Linked DNA regions of Homo sapiens: all the other regions are linked to region 1. The links are contacts of gene promoters, found by promoter capture Hi-C in blood cells and fetal thymus (Javierre and others, 2016). All regions are on one chromosome and are shown on one strand. Each heading gives the region's core, a stretch centred on a gene start or on the middle of the fragment in contact. The rest is flanking DNA. Distances are from core to core; before and after follow the strand shown. Region 1 holds the start of NELFB (negative elongation factor complex member B). Region 2 holds the start of CARD9 (caspase recruitment domain family member 9). Region 3 holds the start of PMPCA (peptidase, mitochondrial processing subunit alpha). Region 4 holds the start of INPP5E (inositol polyphosphate-5-phosphatase E). Region 5 holds the start of C9orf163 (chromosome 9 putative open reading frame 163). Region 6 holds the start of AGPAT2 (1-acylglycerol-3-phosphate O-acyltransferase 2). Region 7 holds the start of DIPK1B (divergent protein kinase domain 1B).

The links. Contacts are between HindIII fragments. The CHiCAGO score rates a contact against its expected background, and 5 or more counts as called.
Region 2: a contact is called between the fragment with the promoter of CARD9 here and the fragment with the promoter of NELFB in region 1, in 1 of 17 cell types (activated CD4 T cells). The highest score is 6.6, in activated CD4 T cells.
Region 3: a contact is called between the fragment with the promoter of PMPCA here and the fragment with the promoter of NELFB in region 1, in 1 of 17 cell types (M0 macrophages). The highest score is 5.6, in M0 macrophages.
Region 4: a contact is called between the fragment with the promoter of INPP5E here and the fragment with the promoter of NELFB in region 1, in 10 of 17 cell types (activated CD4 T cells, total CD8 T cells, total B cells and 7 more). The highest score is 19.5, in activated CD4 T cells.
Region 5: the fragment with the promoter of C9orf163 here is called in contact with the fragment with the promoter of NELFB in region 1 in 1 of 17 cell types (non-activated CD4 T cells); the score reaches 5.6 in non-activated CD4 T cells.
Region 6: a contact is called between the fragment with the promoter of AGPAT2 here and the fragment with the promoter of NELFB in region 1, in 5 of 17 cell types (total CD8 T cells, total B cells, total CD4 T cells and 2 more). The highest score is 9.6, in total CD8 T cells.
Region 7: a contact is called between the fragment with the promoter of DIPK1B here and the fragment with the promoter of NELFB in region 1, in 1 of 17 cell types (total CD8 T cells). The highest score is 5.4, in total CD8 T cells.

What each region holds. Positions count from the first base shown.
Region 1 is chr9:137,253,885-137,256,899 of GRCh38, forward strand. NELFB (negative elongation factor complex member B) reads left to right here and starts at 1,443. Exons shown (of 13, transcript NM_015456.5): 1 at 1,443-1,727; 2 at 2,023-2,186; 3 at 2,445-2,544; 4 at 2,940-3,015. The coding sequence starts at 1,482. It also overlaps a transcript of CIMIP2A not described here. RefSeq lists silencers at 811-990, 1,181-1,550, 1,561-1,740, 1,781-1,840 and enhancers at 851-1,798, 1,799-2,746. The HindIII fragment of the contact is 15,726 bases long and covers 1-3,015 here.
Region 2 is chr9:136,372,290-136,375,304 of GRCh38, forward strand. It overlaps CARD9 (caspase recruitment domain family member 9), which reads right to left and starts at 1,380. Exons shown (of 13, transcript NM_052813.5): 1 at 1,243-1,380. RefSeq lists enhancers at 1,248-1,542, 1,562-2,275. The HindIII fragment of the contact is 14,070 bases long and covers 1-3,015 here.
Region 3 is chr9:136,409,030-136,412,044 of GRCh38, forward strand. It overlaps PMPCA (peptidase, mitochondrial processing subunit alpha), which reads left to right and starts at 1,629. Exons shown (of 13, transcript NM_015160.3): 1 at 1,629-1,710; 2 at 2,968-3,015. The coding sequence starts at 1,640. ENTR1 (endosome associated trafficking regulator 1) reads right to left here and starts at 1,585. Exons shown (of 10, transcript NM_001039707.2): 1 at 1,299-1,585; 2 at 1,061-1,210; 3 at 1-38. The coding sequence starts at 1,368. RefSeq lists enhancers at 688-847, 1,698-1,787, 1,818-1,867 and silencers at 1,208-1,257, 1,398-1,487. The HindIII fragment of the contact is 5,612 bases long and covers 1-2,476 here.
Region 4 is chr9:136,438,380-136,441,394 of GRCh38, forward strand. It overlaps INPP5E (inositol polyphosphate-5-phosphatase E), which reads right to left and starts at 1,466. Exons shown (of 10, transcript NM_019892.6): 1 at 229-1,466. The coding sequence starts at 1,040. SEC16A (SEC16 homolog A, endoplasmic reticulum export factor) reads right to left here. Exons shown (of 32, transcript NM_014866.2): 32 at 1,726-3,015. RefSeq lists enhancers at 1-303, 245-354, 304-938, 939-1,572 and silencers at 645-1,134, 1,195-1,374, 1,425-1,624. The HindIII fragment of the contact is 4,062 bases long and covers 1-1,809 here.
Region 5 is chr9:136,482,004-136,485,018 of GRCh38, forward strand. It overlaps C9orf163 (chromosome 9 putative open reading frame 163), which reads left to right and starts at 1,492. Exons shown (of 1, transcript NR_172629.1): 1 at 1,492-3,015. It overlaps SEC16A (SEC16 homolog A, endoplasmic reticulum export factor), which reads right to left and starts at 1,037. Exons shown (of 32, transcript NM_014866.2): 1 at 935-1,037. RefSeq lists enhancers at 185-930, 1,676-2,420 and silencers at 660-979, 1,210-1,319, 1,390-1,569, 1,720-2,149. The HindIII fragment of the contact is 6,891 bases long and covers 1-3,015 here.
Region 6 is chr9:136,686,034-136,689,048 of GRCh38, forward strand. It overlaps AGPAT2 (1-acylglycerol-3-phosphate O-acyltransferase 2), which reads right to left and starts at 1,424. Exons shown (of 6, transcript NM_006412.4): 1 at 1,143-1,424. The coding sequence starts at 1,324. RefSeq lists an enhancer at 29-890 and silencers at 611-1,180, 1,401-1,600, 2,071-2,150. The HindIII fragment of the contact is 21,227 bases long and covers 1-3,015 here.
Region 7 is chr9:136,711,013-136,714,027 of GRCh38, forward strand. It overlaps DIPK1B (divergent protein kinase domain 1B), which reads left to right and starts at 1,560. Exons shown (of 5, transcript NM_152421.4): 1 at 1,560-1,716. The coding sequence starts at 1,654. RefSeq lists an enhancer at 2,223-3,015. The HindIII fragment of the contact is 2,091 bases long and covers 943-3,015 here.

The DNA of each region.
Region 1 (3,015 bases), core at 193-2,692:
GCTGAAGACCTGGCTGGGCTTAGTCACCTGTGCCCTGAACACTCTGGCCCAGGGCCCTGCAGACTCCACTCCCGGGGCCTTCACCTGCTGGGACCCTGCACTGCCCCTGCCTGCAACTTCGCCTGGCTGGGGCCTCCCTTGTCATCACTGGCCTGCCCTCCTACCCAGGGTCGGGCCCCAAGGCTGCCACCTTGCAGGAGCCTTACCTGCGGTGCCGTCACCCGCACCTCCCCAGGTCCTCCCCAGACCCAGGACCCAGACCAGGCCCAGAGCTCAACCCCTTCAAAAAGGCTCTGGGCAGCTGCTTCTGTGGCCTCAGCACCACCCCCTTTCTCAGAGAGGAATCCCAGGCTCAGGATTGTGTGTGTGCTGTGACCCTTGTCCTCCTCTGCCACCGAACCAGCTGGGGGTTGGATCAAGGCACTGGAACCCTCGCCCTAGGGCTGACCAACTTGGCCAGCGGCAAGAGAGCTGTGGTAGCCATGGCCTTGGGAGCTCGGCCCGGCTTGTGGGAACAGGAGCTCTGCTCACGGCTGCACCACCAGGCACCCCTGGTGAGACCCAAAGCTAGGAGTGGGAGCGGCAGGAAAGATGGAGCGATCTCCTCCAGCTGGGCTGAGGAGGGAGGGCTTCCTGGAGGAGGTGGTGGAGGAAGAAGCCTTCAAGGAAGAGCAAGAGTTTGCTGGGCAGCGGGAAAGAAATTTCTAGAGAAAATTTCAGCAGCGGAGACCGAAAAGAGAGAGGGTGTGTGTAGGGGGCTTGGCGCGGCACAGCCTGCGGGAGGGCGGCGGGCTGGAGAGGCGGGGAGGCCCGGGGAGCCCACCCGCCTGGGATAAGAAGGGACACTGTGGAACCTGGACTCTCCTTCACGGCTCCGCGGAGCTCGGTGGGCGCCACAGCCTCCCGGTGCCTGGGAGGGCGGCCGTCGCTCGCGCTCCCGCTGCGGGCCCGGTCTCCGCCAGGCCCCGGCCCCCTGAAGGCGCTCAGATCTCAGTTTTGGCGACAGCGCCGGGGTGGGCTTCGTGCCCGTTTCACGCGGAGGAACCCACGCTCAGGAGGGAGTCTGCGCCTGTGTCCGGCCCCTGCGGGGCAGAGGGGCGGGGAGCTCAACCCCCGGCAAAACGTCCCCGCTGCGCGTGGCTGCCGCGAGATCTGCAAGAGCGTTTTCCACGCTTATGTACACGAAATTCACTCGGCTGCGACGACGTCCGTTCCCGGAGCAGACGGACCCTGAGTCCGCCCCCCACGCCCTCACCCGCCCTCTTCTGCCAGAAAGCCCGGGCGCGGGCGGGACCGGGTGGGCGCATGCGCGCTGGGCTGGCTGGGCGGGGTCTCTCGCGCCGGGTGAGGGCGCTGCTCCCAGGAACCTGCGCGCGGCCCCGGCGGCGTTTCCCGGGGGCCGGTTGGCGGGCGGACCTGGGCGGTGCGGGGCGGAAGTGGGCGGCTGCGGGACGCGCGCGGAGTCGCGCGGCGGGCGGGACCTGGCCGAGCTGGAGGGCGCCGGGGAGCGGGGCTCGGGCGGTCCCCGAGGCCCGGCGGAGCGGGCTTCTGGGGTGTCTGCGGCGGCGCCGGGGGAACGGGCTGGGGATGGGGCGCCTAGCCGGGCGGTGGCCGGGGCCTCGGCCATGTTCGCGGGGCTGCAGGACCTGGGCGTGGCCAACGGCGAGGACCTGAAGGAGACCCTGACCAACTGCACGGAGCCGCTCAAGGCCATCGAGCAGTTCCAGGTGGGGCGGCCCCCGGGGCGGGGGGAGCCCAGTTGGAGGGCCGGGCCGCCTGCTCGGGAGTCGGGCCTGGCGGAGGCGCCGGAAGTTTTCCGGCTTTCTGCTGGTGGCTGAGTCCTGTTCTGGGGGTGGAGTCCGGAGCCAGCACCCCTTTGCTGGACGGCTGGGTGGCTTTCGGTGGCTGCGGTTACCGCCAGCACGGCTGGGAACACCTGGGTGCGTGCCTCCCTGTGCTCTCAGGACCTCGGGGTGCCCGGGCGCACTGGGCTGCGTTTGAGGTTTCTCTTGGCTTCCTCAGACAGAGAATGGTGTGCTGCTGCCATCTCTTCAGTCAGCCCTCCCCTTCTTGGACCTGCACGGGACGCCGCGGCTGGAGTTCCACCAGTCGGTATTCGATGAGCTGCGGGACAAGCTGCTGGAGCGAGTGTCAGCCATCGCTTCGGAGGGGAAGGCTGAGGAAAGGTGGGTCAGCGGGAGGGGTGGGCAGGTGAGATGTGCAGCCGGCCTCTCAGCCTTGGATCGACTCAGGGGCATTTATTGTCCTTTTGGCTCCACATCCTTGCTCCCAGAGGTGGCCTGGGCCTGTGTCTGAGTGACCCCTTGACCCATGTGTCCTGGGCGTGGAGGCTTGTCCTGGTAGCTGTTATCTGTGTAGGGACAGGCAGGTAGCTGCTGCGATTTGGCGCATCGCTGCACCATCAATCCTGTGAGTTGTTCCAGGTACAAGAAGCTGGAAGACCTTCTGGAGAAGAGCTTTTCTCTGGTGAAGATGCCGTCCCTGCAGCCCGTGGTGATGTGCGTCATGAAGCACCTGCCCAAGGTAGGGCCCTAACCCTAACCCTGATGGCGTGGACCGTCCGCCCACTCTCATGCCCTTGGTTAGTGGAAGTTCCGGTGGCCGCCTAGCTCCGGGAGCTTCCTGTGCTGCCTGCCCAAGTGCTGTCCATGGTGAGCTCTGTGCTGACTTCTCCCACATGAGCCGCGTGGAGACCGAACCTTAGCACTGGAGTTAGGGTGTGGGGCCCCTCCTGGGAAAGAGCTGTTGGTATTTAGCATGTCTGTCTGACATGCTGGGGCCGGGGAACCAGTCATAGGTGCCCTGTGGGGTGGAGCTTAGCTCGAGGTGGTCTCTGCGGGGCTGAGGCCTCTTGGCTTGTCTTGAAGGAGACCCAGGGACACAGGTGCCACTCACAGGCAGCCTGTGGTGTCATGTAGGTTCCGGAGAAAAAACTGAAGCTGGTTATGGCTGACAAGGAGCTGTATCGAGCCTGCGCCGTGGAGGTGAAGCGGC
Region 2 (3,015 bases), core at 130-2,629, 880 kb before region 1:
CAGTGACCCCGCTCCCCACCAGACCAGCCGAGGGCCCCTCCGCAGCCTTTCCCAGCCCTTGCTCCTGCCCGTTGGCATCCATGTCACCCAGATACGCAGCGGGGGAGGCACAGATGGGGTCTGAGAGAGGAACTCCCCCTACAGCATGACCCCCTCTGGCCTCTGCCTCCTGGACACTCCCATCACGCCCTGGAGCCTGCAAGGTTAGCCACCTCCATGGCTGGAATGGGCAGAGGAGCTGAGGGCAACTGCCTGGCACTATGGCCAGCCCAAGCTGGGTGAGAGCAGGTTGGCCAGTGGCCCTCCCACCAGCACAGCAGCTGGGGGAGCCGGTTCTTGTGGGACTTCCTCATTCCCCTGACCGACGCCTGCTCACATCCCTGGCTGTGCCCTCCCTCCTCCACGGCCGGCTGCTGATGATGCAAGAGTGGCCACCCAGCCCTGCTGCAGCTGCGGGGTCGCTGCACTGGCCGGGAAGAGCTGCCCACAGGAGCGTGTCTCTGTCACCCCCTGCCGGCCCCGCAACCCTGGGAGGGGCTGTCAGTGTTGCCCTTGGCTGGCCAGGAGTGCTGCTGCGGTGTTTTCTCCAGGTTGAGGTGCCGGGCACCAGTGAATCCCTGGACTCTTCTCCTGCCCCAGATGAGGCCCGGCCCCCATCCCAGTGGCTGCAACAGAACTACCCATGTTGGGACCAGCCACTGCTGTCCCTTTCTGCCAGCATGGTGGGGGCCTCAGCCGCTGAAAGCCACTCCCTCTGAGACTGGGACTGCGGCAAGGCTGGGAGCAGCCACGTGGTCCTCAGACAGCCTCCAGCCCCGCTGGGAAACGCTGGTTTCCAGCCCAGAGGAGCTGGGTCACTGCTCCTGGAGACATAGTTGCCCCAGGCTTGGTCTTTTGAGGCATTTCTCAACTTCCCGCTGCACTTTGTCACCCCATTCAGGACAGTTTTGACAGACAAGGGACTGAATAAAAACACTGGCCACACGGTAGACAGTCCTGGGAACACTGGGCCCCTTTCCTGCTTCCCCAGCTTGAAATGCAGGGTCCCATCTGCCACCGTAATTCCACTGAAATGAACACATCTCCGCCCAGGGGCCGTGAAAGGGACGGGGCCGCATGGCGGAGGCTGCCTGGCTGCCTGTGGGAAGCCTCAGGCTGCTCTGGGGGATCAGTGCCAGGATCCTGAACTAGGCCAACGCCAACCTTCCTGGCCACCTTTCAGAAAGCACCAGACCCACCCACCTGAGGGTCTTCCAGGAGCCACCTGCACTGCAGACACACCAGGAGCCTGGGCCGCGGAGCCTCTGGGAGATGCTGCCCGGGGCTGCAGGGAGGGAGGAGCACGCCGGACGCCTGTGCACTTCCTGATGGGTTCTGCTTAACTCCACAGTCCCGCCAGTCCTCCCACAGGGGGACAGTCCCTGGTGACCTGCTTTCTGATTCGCCCAGCCCAGGAGGCCCCAAGAGGCAGACGGAAGTGGAAGTCCGCTGCCCTCCAGAGGAAAGCTGCTCCCAGCCCTCCCAGCCTGGCCGGGGGCTGGGGGTCCTGGGGATGCCCCAGAGGCCCAGCCCTGGCACCTGGCAAGTAGAAGAGACAGCAGAGACCCCCAGGGGGCTGGACAAGGCCAGCCCGCACCCAGCCACTTTGACCTGGTCACAGGCTTCTGGAGACTTCTTCAGTAAGGCATGCTTTGCTCTGTGCGAACACCCTCGCCCTCGCCAGCATCTCAGGACAGCGGGGCAGGGCATGTGCAGGGGGGCACACAGCCACACGGCATGGCCAGCACACGCCTTGGTCACAGAAGGGCTGCAGCCCACCTTATGGAGCCCAGGAGGCCACAGCAGCCTGCCAGGGGCCATGGCATCGGCCACCACCCAGCTGCACACGGGGGAGAAACGTCCCTTCCAGAAGTGTCGTTATCCTCGTTATCCCCATCATGAGGCATCCCTGCTCTCCACCAGGATGCATGTGAGGACTGAGGCCACTCTCGGGGTCCCCCAAACCAGCTTCAGAAGAGCCGGTGACAGCAGGGCACAGCTCGGCCCCCATCCAGGGACAACGGACAGCAGAGTCTGCCCTGAACTGTGCACTTCAGCGTGTGGGCTGCCAGAGCCTCATCCCTGCAGGCTTGGGAACCCCCAGGCCCCGCCTCACCCGGTAAAGCTGGTTGAACTGAGTTGCCACCCAACAGGTTCGAGAAGGGGCCGCCAGGCTGGAAGGCAAGGAAGCTGGTGTGGAGCTTGCCTAACCGTTCTCAGCCTCCAGCCCTCAGGCCTCTGTGCGGACAACGTCTGACATCACACATTAAGGAGCGGACAGTTAGGGGTCCTCCTGGGCTCTCGGGAATGCCACATTCCAGGGGGCCGTGCCCCTGCTGGACCCCTCACCATCAACATGAGCGAGTGTGCAGGCCGGGGCCATCCTGGGCCCTGCCAGGGAGCGAACCGGAGCTGGCACCAGGCCCTCATGACCCAGTGTTTCCCCAGCGTTTAAAACGCGGACCTTAGTGACTTCCCTGTGGTGTGTGTCCTTAGGAGTGAACACACATACCATGTTCTCTAACCATATCGGAAGCTAAAAATCGGTAACAGATATCGGCAAAATCTCTAAATATTTGGAAATTAAATAATATACCGCTAAATAACCCACAGATCAGAGTGGCCCCCAGACTAGGCACCAGACTAGAGAACCAGGCACAGCAACACATACTCAGGAGTGAGGTCGGCCATGGGACCGTCCCGTCTGCCAGGTGCCCAGGGCTGAGGCCCCACAGTGGCTCCAGTGAAGGATCGAAGCCCAGATAGCCAAGGGCCTGGGGGCGCTGCTGCCACAGAGACAAAGGAAAGGGAGCTAGGGGACAGACGGAGAAGATGGGGGCTAGTCTTATGCCAATAAAGGCCCATGCAAAAGGAACAGTGGAGGGTGGGGGCTGCCGCCGTGTCGGGGTAGCCAGGTCATCTGTTCCAGGGAACCCCCTGGGTCAGCCAGGGCAGCGCGAGGGCTGGCAGCCATCT
Region 3 (3,015 bases), core at 379-2,878, 840 kb before region 1:
GCTCTGCTTAGAACATTTCCCCTTTCCATAGCCAAAATCTGCAAAGAAACAATGTCACCCACCATGCTGGCAGGAAGTCTTTATGACCTCACATTTGGTTTTTTTCTTTTGCACATGGAGTCTCCACTGCAGTGGTTCTCACAGTCTAGAGAACTTTTTTTTTTTTTTTGAGACGGAGTCTTGCTCTGTCGCCCAAGCTGGAGTGCAGTGGTGCGATCTCGGCTCCCTGCAAGCTCCGCCTCCTGGGTTCACGCCATTCTCCTGCCTCATCCTCCCGAGTAGCTGGGACTACAGGCACCTGCCACCACGCCCGGCTAATTTTTTTGTATTTTTTGTAGAGACGGGTTTTCACCCTGTTAGCCAGGATGGTCTCAATCTCCTGACCTCATGATCCGCCTGCCTCGGCCTCCCAAAGTGCTGGGATTACAGGCGTAAGCCACTGCGCCCGGTCAGCCGAGAAAACTTTAAAAAAAACACAAGCTCCCAGACTTGTGACCCTGGAGATGGCCTGACTTGCAGACTGGCCCTGGTGTCCGTGGTCTGAAAGCGGCTCCTCAGCAGATTTTGAAGCCCAGCCGGGGCAAGCGCGTCCTCTTGTCTTGTGACAACCCCCGAATGTCCTCAGATCCTGGCATAACCACACAAACACTCCTGCACACCCCGGGCACCCAGCAGCACTTCTGCTTGGGTAGAACGAGGACGAACCAGATCTGGCCACTGCCCGGCTGTGGAGGCAGATGGAATGCTCCAGCTCGGTTTCCAATCACTGCCCACTAGGTGAAGGCACCCCGACTCCAGCCCCACGAGGAAAGCGGGCGGGCTCCTGTGCTCCCCGGGCACTAACCATCCTGTACTGGAACTGTCTGTCTTGGGGGAGGTCTCCCCGCAACCAGACTGTGAGCTCCTAGCAGGGGACTCCGCCTTTGAATTCCGAGTGCCTGGCACGCAGTGAGCGCTCTGCACATTGATGGGTCAATGGACGAGCTCGTGCTGCAGCGGAGGTGCCACACGTGGCGCGGGAACTGGAAGCGTCCCCGGGGCCGGCGCCCTCGTCTCTCACCTGTGTCTCCCACGGAAGCCAGCACCGGGCTGGGCACATAGCACATAAAGGCCGGCCGAATGCCGAAGAAGGGGGAGTCCAGGTCCCTGCCATGGGGGCGCTCACAATTTAGCTGGGGGAGACAAGACCGGCGCTCATAGAACGCTGGAGCTGGAAGCAACGACAACAGCGACTTTACTGCGTGCCGGGGCGGCCGCCGCCCACCTGGACCGCTGGACTCGGCCCCTGCCCCGCTCACCGTCGGGAATGGCGAGGCTCCGGGCTCGGGACAGCGGGGTGGCGCCCGGGCGGCGCTGGTAGCCCGACATCGCCGCCGGCCCGGCGGGGCACGACCTGCCTAGCCCGGCAGCGGCGGCTCCATGGCCCCGGCTCCGCCCGTGCCGCGGCCCGCGTCGCCCGCCCCCGTCGCCCGCCCCCGTCGCCCGCCGCTCGGCCGCCCCCGCGCCTCCGAGCCTCTCGCCGCTGCTTCCGCTCCGAGCACCGAAAGCGCGTGCCTGAACGCCTTGGGCCGTCGGCGAGGGGGAGGGGAAGCCGTGGGCGGAAGCGGAAGTGACGACTGAAGCGGGGCGGAGACGCAAGATGGCGGCTGTGGTGCTGGCGGCGACGCGGTTGCTGCGGGGCTCGGGTTCTTGGGGCTGTTCGCGGCTGAGGTGAGCCAAAGGCGAACCAGGCTTCGGCCTGGGGCGGGGGCGGCTCGAGTCTTTCTGGACGCTCCGTCTTCGGTTTCTACAGGTGACATGGCGCCCGTGGGACGGGCTCGCACTTCGGGACACTGGTGTCCCCGAGGCGACGGGGGCCCTGCCTTGCTTTGCGCCTCGAGCCCGGGGACGCAGTCCCATCTGTCTCTCCTCTCCCCGGCTGCTGGGTCCTCTCCCCCCCTCACTTCCCGGGTCGACGGGCCTTCTCCGAGGCCATGCCTCATATTTGCCCCCGCGCTTCACCTACCGCGTGCTCCTTCAGGAGGCTGAGCCGGTGGGGGCCCAGCTCTGTTAGACCCGCAGGGTTCTGACACCAGGGTCCAGGCTCTCGGTTGCTGCGGTCTGTCCGTTGATCTCTGACGTTTAAGAACCCTTTCCGTACCCACCGCTCCTCCCACCCAAGTGACCGGGCCTGCCTTTCCCCACGCTGGAACTTTGTTCCGACAGCACAGGCGTCGCCCCTCCCCACACAACGAGCGCCGTTTCAGGGGTGCGGAGGTGCTGCCTCCAGGAGATGGATACAGGCTGGAGCGTAAACAAAATATCGGCAGTCGCGTAAATGCTTTGGAGTAAACAAGCAGCCTTTCATGATAGAAAATAGCAGGAAAGACTAGACTGGTGAGGGATAGTCCTCCATCAGGGTGACATTTAAGGGAAGAGCTGAAGAATGAAAGAAGGGGTAGGCATGGGCAAAGGGCAAGCCCTGGAACGGTGAAGAAGCTTTGGGGTTGATGAGTCAAATGTGTTCCAGGAATTGACAAGAATCAGTGTGACCAGGACCTATGGGAGTGTGGGGGTTCAAGAGATGAGTTTGGAGAGGGAGACAGAGGCCAAGTCACACCCCGCCTTCGGACCAGGTTAATAAGGGATATGGCTTTTATCCAAGACTTCGGTGGTGCTGTTGGAGGGCAGAGCTGTTAAGTGCTTTATGTGTACAAACTGCACTTAGAGTGAGTTACTGTTAATAAGCCCTGTTTTTACAGAGATAGCAACTAAGACCCAAAGGACGGAACCAGCTTGCTCCAGGTCCCGTGGCTGAGCCTTTGTTGTCAGCCTCTGCTTTGTCTTCCAAAGTCTGTAGAAATAAGTCCTGTAGAAAGGCAGATGCTCACTTTTAACCCAGACAAAACATAACTAACCGCACCTAACAGGTCATCACAGGTTTGTTGTCTCAAGCCTGTTGTAACTGGGCCGCTTTCTCTGTTTTAGGTTTGGACCTCCTGCGTACAGACGGTTTAGTAGTGGTGGTGCCTATCC
Region 4 (3,015 bases), core at 216-2,715, 820 kb before region 1:
TAACACAACGTCACGCCCACGAATGGTTCTGAAACGCACAGGAAAAGTTCTGGGAAGGGCGCTGCTGTGGGGTGGGGCTGGGAGATGGGGTGGCTGCGGGAGACCCGCTTCGTTCTTTCCGGTTAGGCATCTTAAACGCTGCTGATGGGAACGGTCTCACGAGGTTCCAGCAGCCTGAACACTACAACGAAGGCGGCGCGGGCGCTGCACCCGCCAGGCCCTCCCTACCTGCTGCGGACGTCCTTGCTGCGGATGGGCGCCAGGAGGCTGAAGGAGGATTTGGCCGAGCGAAGGGAACAGTCGTCGCAGGCCAGGGGGCTCCGCGGCCGGCCGGGGCCCAGGCTGCTGTGGGCCCGCACCAGGAGCGGCTGCGCGCGGAGCTTGTAGTCTGCAAGATCCGAGTCGACCTTGTTTGCTGTCCTCAGGGAGTCGGAGGCGATGTCCAGGCTCAGGGCAGGCGGTGGGCGCGGGGGCAGCAGGCTGGGCAGCCTGGGCGAGCTCCCCGCCACGGCGGCGTCTCTGTGCGGGAGGTTCGGGGAGCTGCTGGCCACCCCAGAGAGAGGGTTACCCCCCGAGGACGGGCTCCCTCTCTCACTGCTCAGGACCCCGCGGGACTTGGGGATTTCCTGCAAGGAGGTGCTCAGGCAGGGCGGGGAGCAGCTGTGGGCGGGGGCCCCGGGGCCCTCGCTCTGCACTGAGCCCCTGGAGGGACTGGTCCCATTCCGGGCTTCCAGGTCCTCCTGGCTGCCTCGAAAACGCCTCCTCCTCCAGCCCTTGTCGTCCAGGGACAGGGCTCGCTCCAGTCGAGGCCTGGCGGGGGGCCGCGGGGCGATGGGTGCTGCTCGGGCTGGCGGGTCCTCGCCGCTGGGCGTGGCCGGAGTGCTGCAGGCAAGCGCGGGGCTCTCGGAGCCCGGAGCATCGGGTGGGGACCCCGCGCGCTGGGCCGGCGGAGCGCCGGGAAGCTGTCCTTGGAGCGTCCTCCCTTCCGGCGGCTGCGGGGCCGGCTCGGAGGGCCGCAGATTCTCCGCCTTGGACGGCATGGACGGTCTCTCCCGGGGCAGGCCTCGGCGCGAGGCCGCAGGCAGCGCGAGGGGTCACGGGTGCCGGGTCCGGGGTCGCCGGCGCAGCGAGGAGCAGAAACGCCGCTGCGGCTCCCGCTTGGGCCGGGGATGGTCGCGGAGGGGCGGGGGCGGCTGCCGCATGGCCCGGGCCCCGAGTCCCGCCAGCCCCTCGGGGCTCCCAGACGCCGTTCCCAGGGCGGTCCGCAGGCAAGGCCTGGGGGAACAGGCGGCTGGGCGCCTGTCGCGGGGGAGGTTCGACCCCGACGGGGACGCCGCTCGGGGAGAGGGGTGGGAAGCGGGCACCCCTGGCTGGGCTCGCAGACTCCGAAGTCGACCCGGTACTCGCGGAGGCCCGGCCGCCCAGAAGCGGAGTCAGCCCGGCCGGGACCCAGCAACCGCCGCCGCGGGGCCGCGCCCGGTCCCCGCCCCGCGCCCCGGCCCCGCCCACAGCGGCCCCTGGCGGCCGGAGGACTGCGCCGCACCGGACCCGGACGGGTCTCCCACGCCCCTCCCAACCCGGCAGCCCCGCAGTCCGGCAGGTCCCAGCGAGGCAGGTGCAGGTCCCCGGAGAGGACCTGGGTGCGGTCCAGGACAGCGCCGAGGCCTGCGGACACCTGCACTCACTCGCTTCCAGCAAACCAAAGGGAACCACAGGTGAAGGTGCTTGAAGGAGCGCAAAATATTTTATTCAACAATTTGCAATGTAACAATTCTCATTTAGGAAAAATAGCCGCTCCCGCCTGGAGGAAGCTTCTTGAATCAAAAGTCGTGGCAGTCGACCCCAGAACAGCGGGCAGAGCCGACCGGAAGAGGTCCCAGGATTCACACGAGCTGACCGAGGGACAGAGAGGGCTGCCCCGTCACAGGGACTGGCCTTTCTCCAAGTGACAAGGACAAATGGATCCAGCGGGACACGCCTGTGGAACATTTTGGAAAACATCCTGGGTGGTCTGGGCTAAATGATCAAGTGAAACAGAAAGCCAGGAAGGATCTGTGCTAATTCCACATTCTACAATTTCTACACTTAAATTTAAAACACCAAACAGTTTGTATTCCTCCAGCAGAACCTACAGAAATTATCTACTGATTTTTATTAGTATTTAAATCTTTTCTTCAGTCTCTTTAGACTTGACAAGAATACGAAGAGTTTCAGAACAGTCAGAGAAGCCTTAAAGCTTTGCATCAGTGAGAGGAGGCCCGTCTCTGAGTTGAACAGGGTTGAGTCCACCAGGAGCTACTCAAAGTCTCAGTGTGGCAAAACTCGGGGCAGAAATACTAAGTTCCAGAGCTGCTGTCAAGAAACTGTGTTAAGATACTCTCCCCAAGTGCTACCAACCTCTGAACCAACGTCCCCCAGGGGAGAAAGTGGGTCATGTGGATTGTACCACGAAAAGTGCTCACGGAAAGTGCAGCCTTTTAGAGAAGTGCATCCAGCTTCCTTAACAGTGAGTCTAACCGTGCTCCTACACACGAAATGAAGCCCAAATCAAACATCACACGGTCAGTTTTCAACCTGGATGACCACCCTGAGCCATCATGTCAGACAGCCGGCTCTCTGGGGCTCCTTCCCAGTGACTGGGCCACACGGTGGGCAGTCCCCAGCGCTTTGGGTACACAAAATCACCCATGGTCCTCATCAGGCCACAGAAAGTAAAGTGAGGCTGGAAGCGTCTTTGCAACAGGAAAGAAATTCACTGCAGTAACTAAGGCCTCTCTCAAAAACCGTGAACTAATGCCGAAGGAACCCCACGGCTCCTCGGAGGCGCTGATTGAGAACACAGCGCCCTCCACTCATTCAGCCAGGTTCAAACACGGCGAGGGCCCAGATGGTGCAGAGCAGGGGTTGGGGTCTGCCTCAGTCACCCTCTCTTTGCTCCCAGCACCTTAAAGGAAGCGCGGGACTCACTGGGCAGTGACTCACAGCTGGGCTTGGAGAGGCCCTGGTTACTACCGA
Region 5 (3,015 bases), core at 242-2,741, 770 kb before region 1:
AAAAAAGTGCCCACTGCCTCAAAGAAAACTTTAAGTACAATTTTGAGACTCACTGTAGTAACCACTATTAACAGTAAACGAGGAACAAGGAACAAGAAAGACACGCTATTTTGCCTCTTGTCTACAAGATACCAGCACCTGAAACTTAAGAAAGGGGATGAGGAAAAAACGCAGGGAGGCTGCATTGTGCTGAAACTTGCAAAAGTATCACTTCTAGGAAGAACCGTCTGCGGTTCCGTTTGCTTCGTATTGCCACATGGGGGATGGGAAATACCTCTTTGGTTAACATCGGCATCACACATGTAAAACAAAATCTTAATATACAATCCACACCCAACTTACAAGCCATTTAAAAGTGTTCTTAAGCGGCAAAAACTGACTTTAAATGGCTCTGATGTTTCTGAAGGCTCTACTGTAACACTTCCATCACAAAGGGGCGAGCCGGATCACACACACTCCTCTAACCCTCGGCCTCTGTTGCAACATCCTGATCGCCCAATCAAGAAATTACAAACAAACAACTCTGCTCTTTGGTTCAAATGTAAATGTGTCTCTTCACCAGCATCGCTAAGGAAGCCTTCTAGCCGGTGAGGACAAGACACGCTCATTTGAAAAGTTAAGAGTCTTACGAGGGGTGCCTGGGGGTCCAGCCTCCCGCCCCGGGAACCGGCGTCACCGCAGCCCAGCCGGGTCCACGTCAGTCCCTCGAGTCCCACGGCGGCCCGCGCCGCGTCCGGCCTTCCGCTCTGGCCCGGGGGCCCGGACGTCTGTCCCCTCGACCGGCCCCGGCGGGACCCGAGATGCACCGCCCGCTCGGGGCTGGGCCCAGCCGCCTCCTCTCCTCCGCGCCCCGACCTCCACGGCCTGGCTCCGCCGGCCGGCCTCCGCCTTCCTCCTCCCGCGCTCGCCCCCTCACCCGCGCTCGCCCCCTCACCCGCGCGGCTGAGACCGATCCCTCAGGAGCCGCGGGCGAAAGCCCACCCGACGCTGGCGACGAGCACAGACACCTCAGCCGCCGCAGCCATCTTGGCACATCCGGCTCGGGTCTCCGCGGCCGCCGCGCCGCCGACGTGTCCGGCTTACGACATCAGCGCGCGCCCCGCCCCTGGCCCCGCCCCTCGGCTCGTCGGCCCAGACGCGTTCTCTTTCAGCCCTTCACAGCCCATCCCTCGGCCCCGCCCCTCGCCGGCGTCCGTCCTCCCCGCCTCATCCCTCTGTCCCGCCCCCTCTGCCCCCGCCCCTCGCCGGCGTCCGTTCTTCCCCGCCTCATTCTTTCGTCCCGCCCCCCGCCCGTCTTCCACGCCTTATCCTGTAGTTCCCGCTCCCCTTGGCCCCGCCCCTCTTCCGTCGTTCCTCGCCTCATTCTTTCGTCCCGCCCCCTTAGCCCCGCCCGTCGTCCGTCTTTCTCCGCCTCATCCTGTCGTTCCCGCCCCTTTGGCCCCGCCCCTCGGCCGTCCTTCCCCGCCCGTGGCCCCGCCCCCCTCCGGCGTCCGTCTGCCGCCTCACCGCTTGGCCCCGCCCCTCGCCACCTGCCCGGCCAGGCGCGCCGGGGCCGTCCCAGTACGTCGCCCTGTTTACGCTGGCTCTTTCTCCCAGTCTTTTTTCGTTTTAAGATGTGAGAAGAGATGGGATTCTTCAATCAAGGCCACAAGCGGGAAATCAGTCTGCAGGACCGATGCCAGCAGGCTCACGCACCGAGAACGGCTACTCCGCCCAGCTGAGAAGCGCGGGGCCCTGACGCGGGCGCGCTCCTCGCATTCTTCCGTTGGGCTGGGAGGCTGGAGGGCAGGCGGCGGCGGCCGCGCATGCGCCGGGAGCGGCCGGAGCTGCGGGACGCGGAGGGCCGACTGCGCCTGCGCGCTGGTTGCCTGGTTACGGCGTGGCCGCGGGCACCGAGCGGCGCCGGAAGTTGGTCGATGGCTGCCGCCAGTCCCTGGCCAGCGTCCTGGGGTTTCCCCGACGCATCCTCTACTGTCCCTTCGCTCTGCACAGAGGCCCGGGCAGGGAGGGGCGGCCCGGCCACCGCGCGGAGCCGGGTGTCCGCCGACTCGCAAGGGGGACGCGCGGGCTCCTCGTCCCCAAGCTCCGCCCTGCGCCTTTGCTGCGCCGGGCCCTCCCAGGCCCACCCTGGCCCCAGCCCTGCTGTCCTCCCGGGGAGGTGCGGCCTACTCGGTTCGTTCCCCCGGCCGCCAGCCCCACAGGGGCGCTGGGGTCCCAGCCTTGGCTGAGTGCACGTCGGTGGCGAGTGGGCCCGGGCGCTCGGGCGGCCAGAGCGACCCAGCGGAGGGGTGAGGCGGGTAGGCGCTCCTGTGCCTGCCACGGCCAGGCCAGGCAGCATCCACGCCCTCCCGCGGAAGATCGCAGGGAACAGGTGGGCACTATCCTCTGTGCCCTCATTTTTCGGAGGAGCCGAGGGAGGCTGAGCGGTTGAGGAAGCGGCCAGCCATGCCGGGCCCACTCACCTGCACACCTGCCTGGCAAGGGCAGGGAAGAGCCGCGGCCTTCCTCTGCTGCTCCTTCCAGAGGGCAGGCGCCGTGGTGGGGGTGCCCGCCCGATGGCATCGCGGGAGGCTGAGCTCCCAGCAGCGGCTGAGGTCCTCCCTGGGTGGGAGCCACCCTTGTCCCCAGCTGGGCCGGCGGCTGGTGAGGGAGGGGGTGATATCCGTGCCACGCCAGCAGGGCCGCAGGCGGTGCAGGGAGAGCTTCAGTCCGGCTGACGTGGCACCAGGGCCAATCTGCTCAGCTAACATTTGCCTTTCAGGAGTCAGATTCCTGACCTGTTTGAACAGAGTTAGGGAGCACGTGGTAGGGCCCAGCCCCAGCCCCGCTGCCCCCATCTGCTTCTTCCCAGTGGTCGAGGCGCTCTGCACCCTCCGCGGAAGGAGGTGTCATTGTTTGCCCTTTCCAAAGAGGGGGATGCAGAGGTGGATGCTGCCTCTCAGGCGTGGGGCTCGCCTTTTGCCGCTCGCGAGTTCAAAGAACCCAAGAGCCAGGAGCCCAGGGCTCGACCCTCTA
Region 6 (3,015 bases), core at 174-2,673, 570 kb before region 1:
TGGCTGAGCAGCCAGCAGGCCCTTCTCGGACTCTCCATGCTCACCATCAGGCCCAGGGTCCTCCTTCATATTCCTGGAGCTTCTGGGGCTCCGTTGGAAGCCATGACTGTAGGCCCGTTCCAGCAGCCTCAGTGCCCTCCCAGGGCTGGCAAGGACAGCGAGTGCAGGGAGCTAGCAAACCCTCACCCACTGCCCCTGGAACCACGGGGAAGGGGGCCTCTGGGGCCACAATGCCCCCACCCCAGGCCATTGCAAAAGCCACTGGCTGGGCAGTCCAAACAGGGCAGGGAGAAATGTAGCAACAGCCTGGGGACGGCTAACAGGGAGAGGGGGCAGGCAAGAGCCTTCTCCAGCAGCCACCCCGCCCAGGAGCAGGCAGCCCCCGCCGTCTTTGGCAGCCCAGTCTGACCTCTGGCCCCCAACCCCAGCCTGGCAAAACCAAGCTCCCACCTTCTGGAAGGCGTCCAGGGGAAAATTTCAGCCCCGCCGAACCCTAGTCCTAACTCTTCCTTCCCTTCGCTTGGAAGCTGGGCCCCCGGAGCTGTAGGCCAGGGGCGCGCTCCCCAGCACGGAAGCAGGTCCCCTCCGGGTCCCCCACCTCCCTGCGAAGAGGAAAGGGAGAGAAAGGGGAACCCGCCCCACAGGTGCGCCCATCACCGGGCGGACAGTCAGGAGGGGGTCGGAGGGAGGCCGAGGGGTGCCCCCACGCCGTCGTGCGCCCTGATCAATAGCCCTGGGGCAAGTCCCCGCCGCCCCGGCCTCGGTTTCCCCGCTCAGGAAGCAGGGCTGAGCCTCTCCCAGCGCGGACCGGCCCCCTTTCTCTCCGAAAGCTGCTCCACCCCCGGAACCCCACGCCGGGCTGCAGGGACGCGGCGGAGGCCGAAACCGGTGTAGACGCCCGGGGCCAGGGCGGGGGGTGGGGTGCTGGGCACTGTGACGCCGGCTCCTTGACCCCGTGACTCCGGGACCCCCTGACTCCGGGACCCCCTCCTGTGCCTGCCGCCGGCCCAGGCGCGCTCTCCCCGGAGCCCCGGAGCGGGGCGGGACGGGCGGGGCAGGAAGGAGGGAAGCCCAGAAGAAAGTTAGGGAAGCGGAAGCGGCGCGGCGGTTCCCCGGCCCCTCCCGGCGGCCCCCGGCCTTGCCTCATGTTCTCCACCGTCCGGCCGCCGTGGCGCAGCAGGCAGACGAGCGAGGCCACGGCGGACACCGTGAAGCACAGCGCGCAGTACAGGGCGACCTTGGCGTAGAACTCGGCCGCGCGGCTCAGCTGCACCAGCAGCAGCAGCAACAGCAGCGCCGCGGCCAGACACGGCCACAGCTCCATGGCCCGGCCCGGCGCCCGACGGCGCCGCCAGCTCGCTCCCGCTCCCGCTCCCGCTTCTCCCCCGCGCGCTCAGGCCCCTTATTGCGAGGGCGGCGGGGCTGGGCGGGGCGGGGCGCGGCGTGGGGGAGGAGCGCGCGGCAGGGAAGGGCTAGGTGCGGCGCCCCGCCCCGACACTGTCCCCAACAACGCCCCGACACGGTCCCCTCACCAGGCCCCGCCCCGCCACTGTCCCCAACCCCGCCCCGACACGGCCCCCCCTTCCCGCCCTGGGTCACCCGGCCCGGACCTCCCCTCCACGCTCCCTCCCCACAGCCTTCTGCCAGGTTACCGAGGCTCTGGCGCTCTGCTCCCACCCTCCCGGTCCCAGGGGACCCCCCCATCATGGCTTGCCGGTGGCTCGGGCTCTGGCGCTGCCCCCCATGGTCTGGGCCTCCTGCCCCGCCCGGTGCCCCCTCCCCCCGCTGCCGGGGCAGCCACAGGCTCCCGCGCGCAGAACCACAGCTCCCCAAGGGCGTAAAACCAGCGGGGATGCGCCCGTGCCAGGCCGGTGGCCACGCAAAGGGCCGCCGGAACCGCCCCCGAGTGACCAGTGGCCACCTGGCAGAAAGCCTGGCTCTTAGGGTGTTCTCGGTCCCCTGCGGGGAGACTCGTGGGGGCGCGCAGGCCAACTGGGGCGTGTGTCTGGGCGGGGCTGGGTTGCCCCACCCTGGGTGCCAGAAGTAGCCTTGTCACCAGGGACGCTCCGGGGGCAGGCGAGGTGGGTGTCAGGTGGCGGCGTTCACATCCGCTTGGCAGCACGGCCAGCGTGGCAGGGCAAGGTGCAGCTGGGACAAGGGCAGCAGTCACCTGGCCCGGCCCCCACCCGGCGTCCCACCTCAGGGAGCAGATGGAGATTGAAAAGCAGTTTCCTGGGGTCCCTCCTCATAGGGACTCTTGGGTTTGCTGCAGTTGCGGGAGTGCTGGCCGCCCTGCGCTCTAACGGGTCAGCAGGGGAGCACGGCCCCTCTTTTTTCAGATGCAGAGTTGAGCTGTTAAAACATTTCCCTGAACATTGTAACCACCCCCCAAACTGTACTGAGAGAATGACAAATACAGAAACTGCTCTTCAAATGAATGGGGAACTGCGGTCCTGAAGGACGTGGGGTCTCGCTGCCTGGGCTCAGCAGCCCCTGCCCAGGCGGTCCCAGCTTTTCTTGAAAGTGGAGACACATCCTTTTGCCTTAGGCCTGTAGGCATCTTACAGCGAAACCCAGGAGAGCATTTTCCAGCCCAGTCTCCTTCCAGATCCATATGGGCTTCATCTGGAATCAGCTTGGAGGGCCTGGCTTGACCTCTTTCCACGCTTGGAGCCGGAACTGCACACCCCGCAGCCGGGAGGTCTGAGAGCTGCACTGCTGTGCCTCTGAGAGGCTGAGAGGTGGCTGCTGACGGCTGCGGGGTTTTCATCTTCCAGGGCAGATGAGGTGGGTGCACCCTGCAGACAGGAGTGCCGCTGCCGGGAGCTGGGGGATGCGGGGGTGTGGGCTGGGGTCCCAGGTGGACTTCCTGGAGGAGTGGGGCTTCACAGCACCTTCAGCTGGAGGCTCTGTGCACCCAGGTCCCGAGCAGGTTGTACCCTGGCTGTGGAATCCAGTCCTCACAACCATCAGGCCTGTCCAGGGGCTTTACATGCCAGCCCCCTTCTTGTCCTT
Region 7 (3,015 bases), core at 310-2,809, 540 kb before region 1:
AAACCCCGTCTCTACTAAAAATACAAAAATTAGCCGGGCATGGTGGCTTGCACCTATAGTTCCAGCTACTTGGGAGGCTGAGGCAGGAGAATCTCTTGAACCTGGGTGGCGGAGGTTGCAGTGAGCTGAGATCGCGCCACTGAACTCCAGCCTGGGCTACAAGAGTGAAACTCCGTCAAAAAAAAAAAAAAAAAAAAGGAAAAGAAAAGAAAGAAACTGTTAAGAGAATGAAAAGAAAGCCACAGACTGGGAGAAAAATCTTTGCAAATCACATGTGTAATAATGGGCAGATATCCAGAAGATATAAAGAAGTCTCGGACCAGGCATGGTGACTCACGCCTGTAATCCCAGCACTTTAGGAGGCTGAGGCAGGTGGATCACTTGAGGCCAGGAGTTTGAGACCACTCCGGCCTGGGCAACATAGCAAGACTCCCTCTCAAAAAAAAAAAAAAAAAAAAGTCTTGGCTGGGCACCAGGTGACTCATGCCTGTAATCCCAGCACTTTGGGAGGCCAAGGCAGGATGATCCCTTGAGCCCAGGAGTTCGAGACCAGCCTGGGCAAAACACTGAGACCCAGTCTCATTCTAGATATTAAAAATTAAAACCAAAATGTAAATAAGTCTCAAAACTTAATAATAAAGAAACAACGTGATTTTTATTAATGGTCAAAAACTTGAATAGACTTTGGAGAAGATACACAGGTGGTAACTGAACACGCAGAAAGTGTGTTAAACACGCGAACCACAGCCCCAGCGAGACGCCACCACCAGGGAAATGGCTAAAATGTAAAAACCTGCCGATAGCAAGAGCCGCCCGGGATGCGGAGCAGCTGGAAGCGCCGGCGGCCGCGGGGAGGGAGCGAGTCTTGGCAGCTGCTGGCTGCGCCCCACATCCCTCACCGTCCAACTCAGCCCCCCCAGGTGTTTACCGAAGTGCAATGAAAGCTTCTGTTCACACGGAACCTGCCTATGGAGGCGGCAACGGCTCATCCCCGAGCACCCCACGCGGAGGCGAAGGAAGTGTCCTCCCGGCGAGTGGCCAAGGCGCGGGGTCTCAGCCAGGAGGGAAGGGTCGGACCCCGGGGCGGGCTGCAGGCTCGGCCAGCCCAGGGCTCCGCGCGTCTGACCCCATCCTGAGGACCCAGGGGAAGGACCAGCCCTGGCTCTGCGGCCTCGAACCGGGGGCGCGCGTGGGGAGCCCTGAACCCCGCAGCCTGCGTAGCGCACGGGGCCTCTCTCCAGCGTGGGAAGAGCCCCCGAGACGCCCAGGAGCCCGACAGGCGCGCCCCCGGCCCCGGCTCCGCCTCCCGGCCCATCCCGCGCGCCCCCAGCCCCTCCCGCAGCACCGTTGCATGAGGGGCGGGGTCTGCGGGTGGGCGGGGCCTCGGTGCCCGCCCCCTCCTCAGCCGAGCCGGGGGTCGAAGGCGGGCCGCGCGCCAAGCCCCGCCCCCGCGCGCCTCCGCCGCGACCCTCCCCCGCGCGCCCCCGCCGCGCCGCCGTCGGCCGACAGAAAGGCGCGCGCCCTCGCCTTTAACGCGGGCCCGGGGGCGCGCGGCCCGCATGGCGAGGGAGCGGCGGCCGCTGCGGGCCGGGCCGGGCCGGGGCTGAGGCCGAGCGAGCCGCGGGGCCCGCGCAGCCCCGGCCGGAGCCCACCATGCGGCGGCTGCGGCGCCTGGCGCACCTGGTGCTCTTCTGCCCCTTCTCCAAGCGCCTGCAGGTAAGCGCGGTGCGCGCCCGCCGCCCCCGGCCGCCTCTGCCTGGGGAGGCCGAGCTCCAGCCCCGGAGTGGGCCGAGTACGGAGCGGGGCCCCGGGTTCGGACACGAAGGGTTCATGAGCCCGGGGTGGGCAGCGGGGAGGGGGCGAGTGGCTCCGGAAGGACGGGACGCTGGGGGAGGGGCGGTGGCGGCGACAGGAGGGTCCGGGCGCGGGGATGCTGCGGCCTGGAGGCCCTCGCCCCGACCTGCAGGCGGTCCCTGCCCCCCAGGCCCAGAAACCACACCGAAGTCCTTTCTTCTTTTCTCCACTTAAAAAATGAGGTGTGTTATTCTGCGGTAGAAAACTTGGGACGCACAGAAACGCCCTGGCAAGGACATGACCTCCCCGCCCCCTGCCCCTTCATCCCATCAGCCAGCCGTAGCGCGGGGACCCTGCCCTGACCCCGGGATGACCTTGAACCACCGTCCCCTCCAGGGGCCTGGCCGGGTCCGCAGGGGAGGCCCGGGCCGCCTTGGGTTCCAGCTGCCAGGAGCCCTTTCACCTTCTGCTTTGGGGAGATGCAGGCCAGGCCCATCAGGCTCCAATCATCCGGGGCCCGGCCTCGGATGGGATGCCCTCCCAGACCCTCCAGGACCCCAGCCATCTGCCGGAGGCGCCAGTCCTGGTCAGATTTGCCTGTATCTCCCCGGCCCCCGCAGGGTGGTCCTGGGTCAGCAGGAGGAACCCTGCCTGCGTCCTGCCTGAGCTCAGGGCCTGGCTGGCCTCAGCTCCCCTTCTGGGAAGAGCGTATGGAACCTGGCAACCCACAGATTGCAGCGAGACCCTCTGTGCCCACTTGGGGCTTCAGGTTGTGGTGGTCCCGGCTCAGCCTTGGGGCAGGGTGAGAGCTAAGGGGTCTGAGGACCACCCCAGTCGCTGGGAGGTGGGGTGCACAGTGGTCCCCTCCCCCGAGGAAAGGCCTCGACCAGCAGCTGCAGAAGAGATGCTGATGCTTGGAGCTCCGCCCAGGAATGGCAGCAGAGGGGTGTTGGCTGCTCCCAGGGTGGCTGGCTCGGGGCCAGAGCCCTGGTGGGAGCCCAGCCTGCCCCTCTAGTGGCGAGGGCCTCAGTTTCCTGGCCTTGTGAACTGCTTTTCTGGGTTAGTGCTGTGGGGCTCCTGGCCCACGGTCTGAGCCTGCTGGGCTGAGGACCACTGTGCTGTTCCCATCCCCTGGGTGACCTTCCCTATCCTCCAAGTGGCTACACCGGGAGCTGGTCCCCACCTGCCCCTGCAAAGCCCCAGCCCAGGTCCTGGATGGTG